Linked DNA regions of Homo sapiens: regions 2 and 3 are each linked to region 1. Evidence: promoter capture Hi-C in human tissues and cell types (Jung and others, 2019). All regions are on one chromosome and are shown on one strand. Each heading gives the region's core, a stretch centred on a gene start or on the middle of the fragment in contact. The rest is flanking DNA. Distances are from core to core; before and after follow the strand shown.

Region 1 (2,700 bases), core at 136-2,635:
TAGGCATGCCTGTGCCCCCCGCCTGCCTAGACACTATACCCTACGGGGTCCTGGCACACCCCTTGGGTAGCCTGGGAAGAGGCCTCAGCTCCATCCAACTCCCTGGGCTGAGATGGGGCTCCCAACCCCTGGGTGCAGTTTTCCCTTCTCTGCAACTAGGATAACTACTGGGAGACTATCTGGGTGAATTCAGGAGGACAGAGGTCCCCAACCTGGCCCAGCTTCAGGGTGGACATACTGGTGTCTTTGGTTGGCGTCTCCCTTACCTCTCCCAAGCAGTAATGTTCTGGTGGCAAAACACAGCTATCTCAAAAATTAGGAGTTATTTATCCAGTGGGGCCCCCAGCCCCAGCTCCAGCCAACTCCCGCCAGCACTGCCTCATTCCTAGGCCAACTTTGATACCCTCCTGTCCCATCTGCTGGGGGCAACCCCGCCAAGCCCCCGCTGTCCCCTGCCCACTTCACCACTGGGACCCCTGGTTCAAACTAGGGATTGACCGCAGGCTCTCCAAGCTCACCTACACACTACATACAGCCGTGCCCCTAATCCAGGCAGGACTCTGCTGTAAAAGCAAACCCAAGGTGGCAGCTGGGGGTCAAGGGGCTGGCACAATGCTGGGAGAAATGCCTCAGGACTGGAGGTCCTCCCACTCTGCTGATGTGGGAGACCCCCCACGTGGGGACTGCCAGTATACCGCTTCCCTTCGGGCTGGCCAGTCCTCAAGTAGAGACACTGAGGTAGGGCAAGCGCATCTACGGGGAAGAGCGCTGCCTCGGGCGTTAATGGGAGAGAGAGCTGAGGCAGAAGGGGGATCGGAACTCCCGCTCCAGAAGCGTGAAGGTGGGGGTGTATGAGAGCACCCACCCAGAACCTTGCAGGAAAAAGTTGCTTTGCACATGGGTGACCCCGCAGGCCACATCATCCACACATCCATACGCCGCCCCGTAGGTAAGGGGTCCGGGCCTCCAGGACAGGTAAGAATCCCACCCCAGCCTTGTTGCCCCTATGTCCGCGGGCAGCCCCCCGGCTCGACGAGACCCGCTCCCCGGACACTTCTGCGGAGTTGCAGTGCCGCGGGTCCCAGAGGGGTCGCGGGGTGGCCCGGCCGCCTGCCCGCTCCCTCCCGGTTCCCGCTGCACTCACCTCTTCCGCAGCGGCGGGGCCTGGGCGCCCGGGCGGCGGCGGCGGCACGGAGCGGCTCCCGTTGGGCCGGTCCGCGCTAGCGGCCCCCCGGGGCCATGGCCCTGCCCGCGACCTCTCGCCGCTGCGCCTCAGCCGGGATCGGCGCCGCGGCCGCGGCTTAACCGGTTCCGCGGGCTTCGGGCGCGTCAGCAGCCGAGGGCCCGGGCCCCAGCCCGGGCCATGGGAAGGCTCAGGGGCGCTCGGGGCCGCCTCCCCTGGGGTGGGCTGCGGGCGCCCCCTGGCCGGCGCGCCGAGGGCGCATTCCCCAGCGCGGGGCGCGGGCGGTGGCGCGCACTCGGCTTCGAAGCGCTGCGCTCTCCTGGCTGCTGGACCCGGGCCGGGCGGCCGCGCTGGGCTGCACGGTTCCTCGCGGCGTACCCAGGTCCTGCGCTGCGCTCGGGGCTCTCCGGACCGCCGCGGTTCGTTCGCTCGCTCTGGTCTCGCGGCCGCCGGCGGGACGGGGCGCTCAGAGCCGCGCGGGGAGCGCCGGCAATTGGCCGCCCGTGGGCGACATTTGCATAGCGCAGCCCCGCCCCGCCCGGCCCGCCCAGCCCCACCCCCGGGGCGGGACCCGCCCAGCCACCGCCCCGCCCCCGCTCCACCTGTCCGTGGGCCGGGCTCAGGGTTCCCAGGCGGTGGGCACCCCGCGCCGGGGGAGACTAGTCTGCACCCCTCGCCCCCGCCCCCGCTTCGCGGGCGGCGCCCCCGCCCCGCCCTGGCTTTGTCTCTCTGTGAATACACCGCACACATCGCGCCTGGTGTTTACCCGGGCATTCAACTCCCTGGCGAGAAGGGCTGCAGCGCCAGGGAGCAACGAGCCTGCGCTCACCTGAGCACCCCCTTCCGCGTCCCTCATTCCCACTCGCCGCCGGCCGTGCCCCTGGTCCCGTGCGTGGGCCCCGCGGCGCAGGACCCCTGACTGCCCGGGCTGCTCAGCAGGTGGCGGTGCAGCCCCTGGGACGGCTGGCACCGCCGGACCTTCCCGCGGGCTCAGCCTCCAGCCTAGGCCAGGTCGGGGGCAGCCCAGCCACACAGCTCTCTCCAGCCATTCAACGACTCCCCGTGATCGCCTCAATCGCCAGCCCTTATTTCAGGCCAGCAGCTCCCACAGACTCTCCTTATAGTTCCATACCTTAGAGAGGCCAGATCAGCTAGCACCTTCTCTCCTCAAGGGGACATTTGCTTTCAAATGGCCTGGTGATGAGCCAATGGCTCAGCAACTGAGAAGGGCCTACCGTGACCCCAGGAAGGGACCCTCTGCCCAACCCAACTTTCCAAGGTCATGGCCTCACCACCAGGACCACTTCTCAGCCCTGCCCCGGGCACCCTGCGGAGGCTCCCAGGGGCGTTGGCCCTTTGTCCTCTCCTTCATCCTCTTCCTGTTCTGTCTTCTGTGCCCTCCTCTTTCTCCTCTTTCCTTTCTCCTCTTCTCCCTCTGCCTCTCCTTCCTTCTCCCCTCTCTTCTCCCTCTTCCTCTCTCCTCTTCTCCCTCTTTTCCATCTCCCTCCTTTTCCTCC
Region 2 (2,700 bases), core at 20-2,519, 43 kb before region 1:
CGGGCACAGTGGCTCACACCTGCAATCTCAGCACTTTGGGAGGTGAGGCGGGCAGATCACCTGAGGTCGGGAGTTCAAGACTAGCCTGACTAACATGAAAAAAACCGGTCTCTACTAAAACTACAAAATTAGCCGGGCGTGGTGGTGCATGCCTGTAATCCCAGCTACTCAGGAGGCTGAGGCAGGAGAATCGCTTGAACCCAGGAGGCAGAAGTTGCTGTGCGCCAAGATCACGCCATTGCACTCCAGCCTGGCCAACAAGAGTGAAACTCCATCTCAAAAAAAAAAAATTCTGTTTAAGTTATAAATAAAATATTCAAGCTTAAAATAATGTGAGTTTTAACATACCTACTTTTACAAGTTTTTTCAACTATTTAATGTTCTGGAAAAAAATTAACCATTAAAAATACATAAAATGAGTTTAAAAGGCAACCCACGGAGTGGGAAAAAAATTTGCAAATCCTATCTCTGATAAGGAATTATTCTCCAGAATATATAGAGAACTTCTAAGACTCAACAACAACATTAAAATAACTCAATTCAAAAATGGGCAAAGGACTTGGACAGGCATTTCTCCAAAGAAGATATACAGATGGCCAATAAGCACAGGAAAAGATTCTCAACATCACTAAGCAGTAGGAAAATGCAAATCAAAACTACCAAGAGATACTACTATTAAAAAAGAAAAATAGGTCAGGTGCGGTGGCTCATGCCTGTAATCCCAGCACTTTGGGAGACCGAGGCGGGCGGATCACTTGAGGTCGGGAGTTTGAGACCAGCCTGACCAACATGGAGAAACCCCGTCTCTACCAAAAATACAAAATTAGCCAGATGTGGTGGTGCATTCCTGTAATCCCAGCTACTTGGGAGGCTGAGGCAGGGGAATGGCTTGAACCCAGGAGGTGGAGGTTGCAGTGAGCTGAGATCACACCATTGCACTCCAGCCTGGGCAACAAGAATGAAACTCCGTCTCAAAAAAAAAAAAAAAAAAATTAGCCGGGCATGCTGGCATGCAGCTGTAGTCCTAGCTATTCGGGAGGCTGAGACAGGAGAATTGCTTGAACCCAGGAGGCAGAGGTTGCAGAGCCGAGATTGTGCCACTGCACTCCAGCCTGGGCAACAGAGCGAGACCCCATCTCAAACAAAACAAAACCCAGAAAATAACAAGAGTTCACAAATATGTAGAGGAAGGGGGACCACCTGTGCACTGTTGGTGGGAATGTAAAATGGTACAGCTGCTGTGGAAAACTGTTCCTCAAAATATTAAAAGTAGGCTGAGCGCAGTGGTTCACACCTGTAATCCCAGCACTTCGGGAGGCCGAGGTGGGCAGATCACTTGAGGTCAGGAATTCAAGACCAGCCTGGCCAACATGGTGAAACCCCATCTCTACTAAATACAAAAATTAGCCAGGCATGGTGGTGGGTGCCTATACTCCCAGCTTCTTGGGAGACTGAGGCAGGAGAATCACTTGAACCCGGGAGGCAGAGATTGCAGTGAGCTGAGATCGTGCCACTGCACTCCAGCCTGGGCGACCGAGTGAGACTTCATTTCAAAAAAAGGGGTCAGGTGCAGTGGCTCACGCCTGTAATCCCAGCACTTTGGGAGACCAAGGCAGGCGGATCACCTGAGGTTGGGAGTTCGAGACCAGCCTGACCAACATGGTGAAACCCCATCTCTACTAAAAATACAAAATTAGCCAGGTGTGGTGGCACATGCCTGTAATCCTAGCTGCTTGGGAGGCTGAGGCAGAATCACTTGAACATGGAAGGAGGAGGTTGCAGTGAGCCGAGATCATGCCATTGCCACTCCAGCCTGGGCAACAAGAGCAAAACTTCGTCTCAAAATAAATAAATAAATAAATAAATAAAATAAAAATAGATTCACCATATGAGGCCGGTTGCAGTGGCTCACGCCTGTAATCCCAGCACTCTGGGAGGCCGAGGTGGGCAGATCACCTGAGATCAAGAGATAGATCGAGACCATCCTGGACAACATGGTGAAACCCCGTCTCTACTAAAAACACAAAAATTAGTTGGGCATGGTGGCGTGTGCCTGTAGTCCCAGCTACTCAGGAGACTGAGGCAGGATAATTGCTTGAACCTGGGAGGCGGAGGTTGCAGGGAGCCGAAATTGTGCCGCTGCACTCCAGGCTGGCGACAGAGAGAGACTCTGTCTCAAAAAAAAAAAAAAAAAAAAAAGATTCACCATATGATTTGCCAGTTCCATTTCTGGGTATACACCCAAAATAATAAAAAACAGAGGCTGGGAGAGAGATTTGTACACCCATGTTCATAGCAGCATTATTCACAATAGCCAAAAGGCAGATGTAACCATTCATCAATAGATGAATAAATAAACAAAGTGTGGAATATATACAATGGAATATTATTCAACCTTAAAAAGGAAGGAGATTCTGCCATATGCTACACATGAATAAACCTTGAAGACATGATGCTAAGTGAAATAAGCCAGTTGCAAAAAGACAAAGACTTCATGGACCCACACATCTGAGGCACTTAGAGCAGTCACATTCATAGAGATGGAAAGTAGAATGGTGGATGCCAGGAGCCGGGGGAAGGCAGGAATGGGGGGTTATTTTTTCATGGGTACAGAGTTACAGTTTTACAAGAGGAAAGGAGTTCTGGAGATGAACAGTTGCGGTGGTTGTACAACATTATGAATGTACTTAACACCACCAA
Region 3 (2,700 bases), core at 201-2,700, 60 kb after region 1:
ACTCTAGCCCCTAGCCACAATAGCACTTTGCCACTCATCCCTCTCCTGCCAAAAGCCTCTGACTCCAGCCAAATCAAGCCGATTGCTAGGCCTTATCTAGATTCAGTACCTTTCTATTCCCTGCTCATGTGATACCCCTCCGCCTGAAGGGCCCATCTACCACACCATTCCCTTAGTTTTCCACGCCTATAATCCTAGCACTTTGGGAGACCCAGGCGGGAGGATTGATTGAAGACAAGAGTTCAAGACCAGTCTAGGCAATAAAGAGAGACCTTGTCTCTACAAAAAAAAAAACAAACGATAAAAAAAAAAATTAGCTCGGAGTGGTGACACATGCCTGTAATCCCAGCTACTTGGGAGGCTGAGGCTGGTGGATTGCCTGAGCCCCAAAAGTTGGAGGCTGCTGTGAGCCACAATCACGCGATTGCACTCCAGCCTATGCGACAGAGTAAGGCCCTGTCTCACAAAAATAAAAATAGAAGATTCCTTACCCTCCACTAGTAACAATTTCCTTTAAATAACCTTCAAGAGCTCTTAGGCAGACCTCTTTCAATAGGACCTTTTCCGACATGACCCTCTTTTTGAGACAGGGTCTTGCTCTGTCGCTCAGGCTGGAGTGCAGTGGCGTGAACACAACTCACTGTACCCTTGACCTCCTAGGCTCAAGTGATCTTCCTGCCTCAGTCTCCCAAGTAACTGGGACCACAGACAAGCGCCATTAAGACTGGCTATTTTTTTTTTTTTTTGGAGAGATGCGTCTTACCATGTTGTCCAGGTTGGACTTGAACTCCTGGGCTCAAGCACTCTTTTCACCTTGGCCTCCCGAAGTGCTGGGATTACAGGCATGAGTTACCATACTCGGCCTCTGACCCCTTTCTATTCTGCATTGTCACCATTATCTGCTGACCTTAGCTACTCATCCATAAGCTTTTTTGAGGCAAGATCCATAGCTCTGTGTCACTGTAGCATCTAACATGTACAGTGTAGCAGATGTGCAGTGGATCACAAATAATGGAATGATTACCCACTATTAACTCTAATATCCTGTCTCACATTTGTCACATTCATTACTTCCAGGGTTTAGAAACCCAAAGCTACGGGAATCCAATGCTTATTTTGAGCTTTATCCAAAATTCAACTAAACATTAGTCAGAATATTACTTTGATTACTCCAAGAAAACAAATACTGGCACACTGCTGTTTTAAAACCTCACATTCATTTTTACCAAGAGCACTGGCTGAGTAACATACTGTGTTCAAGGGTTGGGGACACAGAGGTGACTAGTTCACACAGAGGCCTATTTTCAGAGATCTTGTGGTAGAGATGAGACATGTGTGTTGATGGCTACAGTAAAGGTGCTACACAAAAGTCATGAATACAGTGCCTTAGGAAGAGAATAACGAAGAAGAAGCTCTGCCCGATAGATCAGGCTTTACATACAGGCGTCTCCAAGCAGAAAAAGGCACAACAGTAGAGCAATGGACATGTCCAAAGTCCAGGATGTGGAAAGTAGGGTGTGGCTGGAAGGAAGGGTGAGGACCAGAGATGCTGCTGGAAATCAGGCAGTGCCAAGTACACTAAGACTCTAATTGGCCAGTCTGAATGAGCCGTCCTTTTTAACAAGCTTTTCTGAGGTTTCAAATGGGTAGTTCAATTTTCAACAAATAAAAGGGTGGCCAGATTATAAAGAAAATTAGGTATTTACCAATCATCCTCATCTAATAAGTAACTAATTCAATAAAAATATATTGATTATCTTCTAGGAGCTAATGAAGACAGAAGACCTGCTCCCTGTGGTTAAAGACATTTAGAAAACTCATACATTGAGCTTCAAAGCCTAAATATGGTAATTTACTTCTTTTTGTTTTTGAGACAGGGTCTTGTTCTGTCACCCAGGCTGGAGTGCAATGGCGTGATCTTGGCTCATTGTAAACTCCGCCTCCCAGGTTCAAGCCATTCTCCTGTCTCAGCACCTCCCCAAGTAGCTGGGACTACAGGTATGCACCACCACACCTAGCTAATTCTTGTATTTTTAGTAGAGACAGGGTTTCACCATGTTGGCCAGGCTGGTCTCAAATTCCTGACCTCAAGTGATCCACCCGCCTCGACCTCCCAAAGTGCCTGGGATTACAGGCATGAGCCACCGCGCCTGGCCAAAATGGTAACTTACTTCTGAACCTAGTTCAGTGAACTTTTCCCTAAAGACAGAAAAATATTTCACTAGCTGAGATAGATACAGGTTGAGCAACCCTAATCCAAAAATTTGAAATGCTCCAAAATCTGAAATTTTCTGAGCACTAACATGACACAACAAGTGGAAAATTCCACCCCTGACCTTATTTGAAAGGTCACAGACAAGAGGGCAGTCAAACCTTTTAGTCCAGGCAACATACTTAGCCCAGCCTGGCTCTACAAAAAATAAATTAGCTGGGTGTGGTGGCATGCACCTGCCAGCTACTGAAGTAAAAAGATCACTTGAGCCCAGGAGTTTGAGGCTGCAGTGAGCTATGATTGCATTGCTATACTCCAGACTGGGTGACAATGAGACCCTGCCTGTAAAAAACAGAAACAAAAATATCACAAACAAAAAAACAAAGCACACATTGTTTTGTGTATAAAATTATTTAAAGTGTTGGCCGGGCAAGGTGGCTCACGCCTGTAATCCCAGCACTTTGGGAGGCCGAGGCGGGTGGCAGGAG

Evidence for each region. Contacts are between HindIII fragments. The study calls those that stand out against the background at their distance.
Region 2: a fragment that was not itself captured here is called in contact with the fragment with the promoter of SEMA3F in region 1 in 2 of the 25 tissues and cell types used here (heart right ventricle and psoas muscle).
Region 3: a fragment that was not itself captured here is called in contact with the fragment with the promoter of SEMA3F in region 1 in 1 of the 25 tissues and cell types used here (dorsolateral prefrontal cortex).

What each region holds. Positions count from the first base shown.
Region 1 is chr3:50,154,009-50,156,708 of GRCh38, reverse strand. SEMA3F (semaphorin 3F) reads right to left here and starts at 1,385. Exons shown (of 19, transcript NM_004186.5): 1 at 1,145-1,385. It overlaps LOC124909484 (basic proline-rich protein-like), which reads right to left and starts at 2,039. Exons shown (of 2, transcript XM_047449434.1): 1 at 2,013-2,039; 2 at 920-1,648. The coding sequence starts at 2,039. The coding sequence ends at 920. It overlaps SEMA3F-AS1 (SEMA3F antisense RNA 1), which reads left to right and starts at 624. Exons shown (of 4, transcript NR_135301.1): 1 at 624-975. RefSeq lists silencers at 1,401-1,870, 1,901-2,040, 2,051-2,110. The HindIII fragment of the contact is 29,271 bases long and covers 1-2,700 here.
Region 2 is chr3:50,197,266-50,199,965 of GRCh38, reverse strand. GNAT1 (G protein subunit alpha transducin 1) reads right to left here. Exons shown (of 9, transcript NM_144499.3): 9 at 2,270-2,700. Among named protein-coding and RNA genes, the nearest start is that of SLC38A3, 6.7 kb to the left of the region's middle. The HindIII fragment of the contact is 5,603 bases long and covers 1-2,700 here.
Region 3 is chr3:50,094,371-50,097,070 of GRCh38, reverse strand. The region is part of intron 4 of RBM5 (RNA binding motif protein 5); the gene reads right to left. Among named protein-coding and RNA genes, the nearest start is that of RBM5-AS1, 5.3 kb to the left of the region's middle. The HindIII fragment of the contact is 4,849 bases long and covers 1-2,700 here.